2 separate regions of the Homo sapiens genome follow, and region 2 is linked to region 1. The links are contacts of gene promoters, found by promoter capture Hi-C in blood cells and fetal thymus (Javierre and others, 2016). All regions are on one chromosome and are shown on one strand. Each heading gives the region's core, a stretch centred on a gene start or on the middle of the fragment in contact. The rest is flanking DNA. Distances are from core to core; before and after follow the strand shown.

What was found. Contacts are between HindIII fragments. The CHiCAGO score rates a contact against its expected background, and 5 or more counts as called.
Region 2: a fragment that was not itself captured here is called in contact with the fragment with the promoter of C7orf33 in region 1 in 2 of 17 cell types (activated CD4 T cells and naive CD8 T cells); the score reaches 6.1 in activated CD4 T cells.

What each region holds. Positions count from the first base shown.
Region 1 is chr7:148,588,566-148,593,881 of GRCh38, forward strand. It overlaps C7orf33 (chromosome 7 open reading frame 33), which reads left to right and starts at 2,201. Exons shown (of 3, transcript NM_145304.4): 1 at 2,201-2,564. The coding sequence starts at 2,361. The HindIII fragment of the contact is 1,806 bases long and covers 1,144-2,949 here.
Region 2 is chr7:148,634,934-148,640,249 of GRCh38, forward strand. It overlaps the pseudogene LOC643438. Among named protein-coding and RNA genes, the nearest start is that of C7orf33, 47 kb to the left of the region's middle. The HindIII fragment of the contact is 2,277 bases long and covers 1,212-3,488 here.

The DNA.
Region 1 (5,316 bases), core at 951-3,450:
AGGCTGTTTACTGACCTATTTTTACTAGGACTACTGAGATATGCTGAACCCTGGCGGGGGTGGGAGTCGGGGGGATTGAAGGTACACTTCTCCCTAGCACCATCAGTCATTGTTCAGATATTTAAATTTCACAAACAGAATCAATGGCCTGCTGGGGGCATTGTCACTTACACCGAGCAGGGCCATCTGTCGCAGCACTGGCATTTTCAGGCATTTTAGATGACAGCATTGCGGGATCTCGTTCTTTGTTCGTGGATTTCAGGATGAAGTCCTTCAATGGGGCTTCATGACTGACCAAGGTTTGAAATTGATAATGTCCCCAGATGGGGACTTGCTGATGCGGCTGCATTCACAGCAATTAGAAGATAATCTGGTGTAAAAACTGTCCGGAGAGCGAGGGGCACAGAATCCCTGAGCTCAGGTTGAGCAGGGGAAGAGAAAGCCAGATCTCCATTCTGGAGGCAGAGTTTTCCACTTTTCCCTAAGGGGTCGTCTCAGCAGCCGGCCTCTCAGCTACAACGTGCGGAAATCTCACTGCCCGATGTGCTAATCACAGAATTGCACAGGTACTCCCTGAATCCAACTTGGGTTATTAAAACAACAATGAGGCTTAGGCATTTGGCTCAGTCCACCCCCAGGGTGACCAGCTGGTCACCTCACTCCGCAACCCAAATCCAGGGGATTCATTCGTTGTCTAGGAATAACTTCTTCCACCTTGGGAATTCTCTGATTTACTCTTACCTAGGTCCACTGGTCTTGACCAAAATGTGAGGTGTCCTTAACTTAAGGTTTTGACTTTTAAGAGGCAGTCGAGGAAATAATATTATGAGGTCTGTCTATTTCTTTAGTGGTCAAAGACAGATAAGTAAAAAGGCAAAGCTAGAGTCCGAATGTATGGCTGCAGGTTCAAGATTCCAGGCCAAGTTCTTGGAACTCCAGCACCTCTAGACTCACCAGCCCCACCAGCCCCTCTGGCCCCTCCAGCCCCACCAGCCCCACCAGCCCCACCAGCCCCTCCAGCCCCTCCAGCTCTGCTGCAGGAAATCCTGCCTCAGGGAATCATGATGCACCACCCAAGGAAGTATTTGCAGAAAAAAGAGATTCCATTATTGCCTTCCCTCAAGGGTGGTGTTGAGCCCATTAAGCTTTTCCCCAGCAGTACACAGAGTAATCTTAGGGATTCTGGTGGGAAAAATATCCCAAATTCTGCTTCCTTATGCTTCACCACATGACCCTAGGGCACACGCACTAATCAAGAACAGCCCAGGGCATCCTGTCACCCCCCACGGTGCACCTGCAAACTGGCTTTTACAGCAACCTTGTCTTCCAAATGGGTCCGTATCTTTCTAGGCATCTTTTGTAATGCTAACCTGTTTGGCATTACCCAGAAATGCTAACATTTCTACCACTTTAACTAATCTTAAGAGATTAAATCACACTCCATGATACTCCTGACAACAAATAGCATTTTAACCAGTAATTTACGATAAGAAGATTTTCAATCAGTGGGCTAAGCCCTTCCCTGGTGATTTAAGAAACTGCCAGCCTCGATGGAGATTCTTCCATCAATTCCTCATCATTATAAAAGAAACAATGGAGGAAAAACTCATCCAATTAAGTGACAATTCCAATGTGTAAATCTTGTAATATTTTTTGCATTTGTGATATGGGTTCTACACTAAAAATGCAACTTGTCTAATCTGAATGAGATGAAAAATCCTGAAAAAGGATGTTATCCTCAATATTTTGTTTGTGCCTCTTGATTTAGTAAACTCCCAACCACTTTTTCATCCTTCCCTGCCAAACCCCGCTACAAAATGTTTCTCATTATGACCTGAGACATTAATTCTGATTGTAGAGGTTTTAGATCATTTCTTCTAGGTGTTAATCAGTTCTGGCCATATGGTGAGGGTGAGGTAATCATTATTACTTTACAATGAATGCCCTTAATTACTTTTTCAGTAGTAATATTAGTCCTTCTGTTTATTTGAGTACCTAAGAGCTGCAGGCAACGTGATCTGAATTACATGGAGGACAAGCTCCAGCTGACTTTCCGTAAACTCGCATTAGGATTCTAATAGGAGACGACAGGAGCAGGTGGGGATAATGAGCTGGCGGAAGGGGCTGCCTATCACACTGCTCGGTGGCCCCTCTTTCACCCCCACTTTGCCTCAGGCATTTTCTACTCAGCTGTGACCTTACTTATGGTGATGCCAATCCAGTGGTCAGGAGCGAGGCGCCCAGCCTGTGTCTGAATCCTCCTACTGACCCTGGGGATCCGTGCGACTTGATCTTAGATATTGGTGGTGAAGCGCCGCTCTCCTTGACAGCATCCAGGAAAGGTAATTACCTTTGCCAAAATGCAAGTGGAAGTTCAAAGCCTCAGCCTTGAAGAGTGTCCCTGGAGACTTCCAGGCCCCCAATGTGAATGTGAAGCCCTCCTGCCCAGTGGGGCAAGGCGCCGGATTGACCTTCGCCTGAGTGGGAGGGCAGTCGCTGTTTGGGTCCACGTTAGGGGCGGTCCAGGTCAATTTAACTTGTCATATGCCACGGGAAGACATAAGGTAAGTTAATGATTCTAAGATGAATCAACTGCTCTTTGAGTCAGTCAGTATCTCTTGAGAATTCATTCACTCAATCCATGAATGTTTTTGACTCTCTACTATGTGTTATGGAACTGGGCTTAACGACATTGAAGTAAAGAGAGAGACAGAGATTAATTCACTGCCCCAAAGAAGGCCTGGAATCTTCTTAGGGAAAAGAATCCTCACAAAACACTCCACTGAGTATTCTTGTGTTTAGCCTGAGTCATGTTGATTTGAAAAATTCCAGCGTAAAAATTGTATATTTTCACACAGTGTGGTAGAAGGAATGCGCTTGTTCTCAGACTATGTTTTGCCCTGGAGATGGGTCCACAGGAAGCCTCTATCTTGGTCACCCTTTGGCACAAGCTTTGCACCTGTTCCCTTCTCCTTGCCTAGATTCTTGTCTCTTCTCTCGCTTTAAAGACCAGGAGTTGTTGTTGTTGTTTTAGAGATAGTATCTTGCTCTGTCACCCAGGCTGGAGTGCAGTGTCACAATCATAGCTCACTGCAGCATCAACCTCCTGGCTTCAAGTGATCCTCCCAGAGGAGCCTCCCGGGTGGCTAGGACTACAGCCATGTGCCATCAGGCTTAGCTAATTTTTTTATTTTTTGTAGAAATGGGGTCTTGCCATGTTGCCCAGGCTGGTCTTGAACTCCTGTCCTCAAACGATCCTCCCACTTCAACATCCCGAAGTGCCACCCATGCCCAGCAAGACCTGGATCCTTAACTCTTTGCCTGTCTTTGATCTTTGACACCTCCTGATCCCCAAGCCCCTGCCTCCCACTAGGCAGGCATTTTTGGTTAAAGTATGAGCTCCCACTTTGTATTTATCTCCAGCTTTGGGTGTTCAGTTTGATGGGAACCACAGGTGTCCCCACCTAGTTCTCCAGCCCTAATTTGTTTTCTCCCATGTTGCAGTTCCTGGCTTCTTCCCATTTGCCCACACCCTCATTGTGGCACAGTGCCCCAAACTGACACATGCCACAGGCTCAGAGTATCTTCTGATATGAAGAATGACTCTGGTCATTCGAGGGCAGAGAGGATTTCATGACCTTTCCCTGAGAACAGCAGCATGAACTGCAGGGTCAGCAAGGGGGTTGTGTCTGCCTGCTGCTAAGGTCAGATGCAGACAGCCCATGTCAGGGAAAGCCCATTTAGCATAAGAAGAGTAAAAAGAAGAAAATACCTCCTCAGCCAGGGGTACTTTGATGTGAACCAATACAATTAGTCTCTGAATGATGAATATAAATGATAATCAATGACGTATATGTGCTTAAAAGAAGGTGAGAAAAGATTATCACTGCCTAAACCTTCCTTTTAAAGGATGCCACAAGTGCATGGGTGGAGCATATAGGGTAGATAGGATTTTTTTTTTTTTTTTGAGATGGAGTCTAGCTCTGTCGCCCAGGCTGGAGTACAGTGGCGTGATCTTGGCTCACTACAACCTCTGCCTCCTGGGTTCAAGCGATTCTCCTGTCTCAGCCTCCCAAGTAGCTGGGATTACAGGTGCACGCCACCATGCCCAGCTAATTTTTGTATTTTTAGTAGAGACAGGGTTTCACCATGTTGGCCAGGCTGGTCTCAAACTCCTGATCTCAGGTGACCTGCCTGCCTCAACCTCCCAAAGTGCTGGGATTTCACGTGGAAGCCACTGTGCCCCAGCAGGGTAGATATGATTTAAATCTTTTTTTTATTATTGTTTTTTTGAGATGGAGTTTCACTCTTGTCACCCAGGCTGAAGTGCAATGGCACGATCTCAGCTCACTACAACGTCCACCTCCTGAGTTCTAATGATTCTCCTGCCTCACCCTCCCCAGTAGCTGGGATTACAGGCACCCACCACCACATCCTACTAATTTTTGTATTTTTAGTAGATACAGGGTTTCATCATGTTCACCAGGCTGGTCTTAAACTGCTGACCTCAAGTGATCCACCCACCTCACCTCCCAAAGTCCTGGGATTACAGGCATGAGCCAACATGCCTGGCCGACACGATTTAAATCTAATTAGATCACTGGAAGATACAGCAAAGTCTCAAAGTGGTTGTCTATGGATGGCACTATGAGTTACGTATTATTTTTCCAAAGCTCAGAATGTTCTGAATTTCTTTATTTTTGTTATTCATTTTGAGATGGAGTCTTGCTCTTGTTACCCAGGCTGGAGTGCAATGGCTCAATCTTGGCTCACTGCAACATCCGCCTCCTGGATTCAAGTAATTCTCCTGCCTTAGCCTCCCAAGTAGCGGGAATTACAGGCACCTGCCACCACTCCCAGCTAATTTTTTTGTATTTTTAGTAGAGTCGAGGTTTCACCATGTTGGCCAGGCTGGTCTCGAACTCCTGACCTCAAATCATCTGCTTGCCTCAGCCTCCCAAAGTGCTGGGATTACAGGTGTGAGCCACTGCAACTGGCCTGAATTTCTTTAAATAGAGAATCTCTATTGCCTTCATAATAACATGTTTTAAAGTTAGTTTTTATTTTAAATGTTAATTTGAAGTCAAAATGCTTTTCCTCTGACTGGGTGTTTAATGCATTTAGGAAAGGCTGAGCATGAAGCCAGGGTCGGGGGATACAGCCTGTTTGGAGGGGATTGTAGAAACGGAGACTCCCAACTGGGATTGACAGGAAAGGGTCAGAGCCCAGAGAGATGCCTGCTGGAAAAGAAGTGACATGGTTGAATATTTGCCCGGCTAAGTGTCATGCTGGAATGTGATCCCTAGTGTTGGAGGT
Region 2 (5,316 bases), core at 1,100-3,599, 47 kb after region 1:
ATACTAATATGAGACACTTTTTCTGTGGATTATGGTAGCAAGTAGTACTCATGTAAAAACACCTGGTCTTCTGGCTTTATTTGTAATTTTTTTTTTTAAGACAGGGCCTCACTCTGTCATCCAGGCTGGAATGTAGTGTTGCAATCATGGCTCACTGCAGCCTTGACCTCCTGAGCTCAAGTGATCCTCCCACCTCAGCCTCCCAAGTAGCTGGGACTATAAGCACACGTCAGCACACTCTGTTCATTTTTGTATTTTTTGTAGAGACGAGGTGTCACCATCTTGCCCAGGGTGGTCTCAAACTTCTGGGCTCAAGCGATCCAACTGCTTTGGCCTCCTAATGTGCTGGAATTACAGGCGTGAGCCACTGCACCCGGCCATCTCCTGGCTTTAAATATGGGAAGTGAAATATACATTTTGAAGGAATCTGTAGATGCTCCTGTACTTTCCCCAAGCCTGGATGACATGGATGGTTTCTTTCCAGTAGAAGACCAATAAAATACTCAGGGGTAAAGGACATAAGGCAGATGCCCCGGCACCAGAATGCCTGGTGTGCCTAAGACATCCACCTGCCCTGACTCATTTCACATGGAACAGCAGGACCGGGATGTAAATGAGAATCGCATAGTGCTTGGCTTGTAGCTCTCCTGAGGAACTTCCCATATTGGTTTCTCATCCATCACACCCTGAATGTGTGATGTTCCTTTATGCCTCTGAGTTTGTAGGTGCTGCACCTTCTTCCTAGAAACCCTGGCCACCCTTCATCTGCTGTGCAAATCCCTGGTCATCCTAAAGACTTATCTTAAACAACACCTCCTCCGTGAAGCCTCCCTAAAGTGTTCAGCTCATGCAAGCAGAATGAGGTGCTTTCTCTTCTGCTCCTCCAAGTTTCTTGATCATTCTATTATAGCACATGAATAACACCAAAATTATCTGTACACATGTCTTTCTCTGCACTAAACTGTAACTTTGTGAATGTGCACGTGGTAGACATCATGGTCAGGAAGCTGCAGGAATGAATGATTATATCTATTTATGTTGGTCCTTTTTCTCCAGTTCCTAATTATATGCCTCAAGAATATGGGTACAGGTTGTTCTTATTCATTTCCTACACCTTGCAAGTTATAACACATTGTCTTGTACATAGGCAAAAATAAAGACTTGAATGAATGAGATGTCATAGCAATAACCATATCTGCAAAACTGACAAAAGCTTATTTCAACTTCTCCTGTGCTATTTTAATCCAGAATCCATAGTATTTTTCACTCAAAAAGGAAAATACCAAAGTTCTCAAAATAGAAGGAAAGAATAAAGAAAATAATAATACTATAAAAGAAATAAAACAAAAGGAATAAATAGCAATCACTAAAGAATTTTCCAGATTTGTGTAAGGTAAGAGGAGACTAAGATCCAGACCACTGGTGGCTTTAAAAGTCACACACTCTGTGCTGACATACTAGAGGTGTCCAGATTTTCAGGACCTCAGGAACAATTTTGACACCCAGGCCTCTTGCCAGATTGAACTGTAGGTGGAGCCTCTTTATGTCATCTTTTCTCCACATCCTGGCTGTTTTTTTTCCCGCCCCTATTCCTCACATACAGAGCTGAGGGTATAAACTGGCAGCCCAACCCACAAACCTGTTTACTCACACAGTGGTTTTATGTTTTTAAATTAGCTGCCAATATGGAAAGAGTGGGGAAGTTCGCATAAACGTTCCCAACTTCAGATTCCCAACTTCCCTTAGAAAATCACATCTGGACAATCCTAGGGCCTCATTCCCATGTGGCAGTGATCAGCTGAGCTGAGTAACAGTGGTCCCCATTCAATGAGGATGGCCTCTCCAGGGCCATGGTTACCTGCTTCATCAATCCCCTTCACCCTCCTCACCCTCTTAGGCAGACGAGTACGCGCCTCCGGTGCACTGGAAACCTCAGGCAAACGCCCAGCGTGCAGGGCTAGGGTTGCATATTGACGCAGACTCCAGGCTCTCCAGGCTGCTGTTGACCGTCCTAGTCTTCCACCAGGCCCCATGGAAAACTTGTATAAGTCATTGCCCCTCTCTGGGACTCAGTTTCCTCATAAGCCAACTGCAGATACACAAAAGAGTTCATCATTTATTTATTAAAGTGCCAATAAATTCAAACTTTCTGAGTCTGCATCCAAATGTCTCACCTTGCCCATAAACTTTATGGCTGATGACGCCCCTAAAAATGTAGGTTTTTTAAAAAATGTAACCTTTTATTTGTCGCCGTGAGGTGGGGCTTATGCGGCGGCGTGGTGAAATAGATGCGGCGACCGAGGGGGATGTGGAGCTGGAGTTAGAGACTGAGACCCGTGGCCCAGAGCGGCCTCCCGAGAAGCCACGGAAACATGACTGACAGCAGTGCGGCGGACTTGGAGCGGGTCACCGACTATGCAGAGGAGAAGGAGATCAGAGTTCCAATCTGGAGACGGCCATGTCTGTGACTGGAGACAGAAGGTCCCGGGAGCAGAAAGCCAAACAGGAAGGGAAGAAAGAACTGGCAATAGGCAGTATCAAGAAGGAAGATCTGGAGCTGGTAATGACCGAGATGGAGATATCTCGAGCAGCAGCGGAAGGCGGCTTGCGGGAACACATGGGCAACGTGGTAGAGGCGCTTGTTGCTCTAACCAACTGATGTGTGCTTTCTCAGATATACCTACTGGATTAATTTATGGCGATAAAATTTCTTTGTCTTTAAAAAAAAGTAACCATTTTTAATGACACTGACCCGCGCCCCCAAAGCCATGAGGAGGTCACCAGTGATCTCCTAAGTACCTAATGATCCCTGTCTTTTCTCAGTTCTCACCTCTGAAAGCTACCAACATTCCATCCTTCTTGAAACCTTCTCCTTCACTGGCTTCCATCAATTTCTATTTTCTGGATGGCCTGCCCTTCTCTGACTACTCCTGTATTTTCTTCCTTTTTTCTTTACCAAATATAGAAATTCCCTAATGTTCAGTCCATCCTCCAACCTCTTTCCAATGGCTATTCTCTTTTTCAGGAAATGTACTCACTACCATGGCTTTAGTCACAGCCTCTCTGTGGGTAACTCCTCTCTCTTGAGCTCGAAACCACATTGTCAATGAACTCTTACCATTTCTTCCCTGCACCCCATCCTTTACTCGATATTGGCATGTCCAAAAATATTAGGCTGGTGCAAAAGTAATTGCAGTTTTTGCCATTAAAAGTAATTACCAGGAGAATCGCTTGAACCCAGGAGGTGGAGGTTGCAGTAAGCCAAGATTGGGCCATTGCACTCCAGCCTGGGCAACAGGGCGGGACTGCCTCAAAAAAAAAAAAAAAAAAATTTCCTTTGCACCAGCCTAATAAAATATCCAAATCCAAACCCAGTGGGGTGGATATCAACTGTTTCTGTCTGCCCTGCATTTCTGTTTTCACCGGAGATCTACAAAACTGTCAATCAAAATTTCCTACCTGGCCTAAATGGAGGGAACGCAAACCAAAGCTTCACCATCAGTGGTACCCCATCTTCCTGTCCGCAGTGATAGGGCCAAGGAGTAAGCACCTGCCCTAAGTGGGATTTGGCATATGGAGACGAGAGGGAGTCGTCTTAGATCATGAACTGTGAAGATGCTGCGGCTGTCTTCCCTGGCCACATGGAAGCTTCAGAAGGAAGGCACGGCACCCAAAGAAAAGCAAACCAGAGCCCCCGAGTGCCTAGGACCAGGAGCGTCCAAAGCCCGATGCAAGACCCTGGGTCTCACTATTAGAGCAGTAACCAATTCCATTTGTCCATAAGCTAGTTTGATTGCATTTTTGTCAGTCATCAAAAGAGCCCTCTTGGCCAGGCATAGCAGTTCACACTGGTAATCCCAGCATTTTGCGAGGCTGAGGCAGGAGGATCGCTTGACCCCAGGAGTTCGAGACCAACCTGAGCAACATAGTGAGACCTTGTCTCTACAAATAATTAAAAAATTAGCCAGGTGTGATGGTGTGTATCTGTAGTCCCAGCTGCTCAGGAAGCTGAGGCAGGAGGATTGCTTGAGCTTAGAAGGTCGAAGCTACAGTGAGCTATGATTGTGCCACTGCACTCCAGCCTAGGTGACACAGCAGTGCTCTGTCTCAAAAATTAAAAACAAATAAAAAAAGAGCCTTCTTTTATTACCTCATTCTCCCAGTGTATTAGTCCATTTTCATGCTGCCGATAAAGACATACCCAAGACTGGGAAGAAAAAGAGGTTTAATTGGATTTACAGTTCCACACGGCTGGGGAGGCCTCAGAATCATGGTGGGAGGCGAAAGGCACTTCTTACATGGCAGCAGCAAGAGAAAATGAGAAAGAAGCAAAAGCGGAAACCCCTGATAAACCCATCAGATCTCATAAGACTTATTCACTATCACGAGGATAGCATGGGAAAGACGACCGGCCCCCATGATTCACTTACCTCCCCCTGGGTCCCTCCCACAACAAACGGGAATTCTGGGAGATACGATTCAAGTTGAGATTTGGGTGGGGACACAGCAAAACCATATCACCTAGTTAACAGGTCATAAAAATTGAAGGCATCTTTAACTCTCTCCTCTCCTTTCCTCCAATATTCAATTTGCAACCAAGTCTTGAAATTCCATTTCTATAATCATTGCCACAATCCCAGTCTCTTCTCAACCTCATTGCTACTATCCAAGCTAACAGCCTCATATACCTTTCTAAAGACTTTTGCAGTAGTCTACTAACTGGTCTCCCACCTCCAGACTCTACCCACCCCTGAGACCACTGTTAGATCCATTTTCCTAAATCGTAAGTCTAGTTACCTAATCCCCCCTTTTAAAAAGTTTCTGTGGGTATCCATTGCATCCAAAATAAGAAAAGATGTCTGTCTTCATTTGCTGGGGCTGCCATAACAAAGTACCACAGACTGAGTGACTTAAACAACAGAAATGGATTTTCTCACATTTCTGGAGGCTGAGACCAAGGGGTCTTCAGGGTTGGTTTCTTCTGAGGCCTCCATCCTTGGCTTGCAGATGGCTGTCTTCTCCCTGTGTGTTTTCATGGCCTTCCCTCTGTATCTGTCCGTGTCCCAATTTCCTCTTCTTAGAAAGACACCAGTCACCTGGAATTACAGCCTACCCCAATGGCCTCGTTTTAACTTAATTACCTCCTTAAAGACCCCATCTCCCAATGCAGTCTCATTCTGCAGAATTGGGAGCTACAATCTTAGCACATGAATTTGGTGGGGCAATGGTGGAGAGACACAATTTGGCCCATAACAATTCCTCATTCCGATTTCTTTTTTTCTTTTTTTTTGAGATGAAGTCTCACTCTGTTGCTCA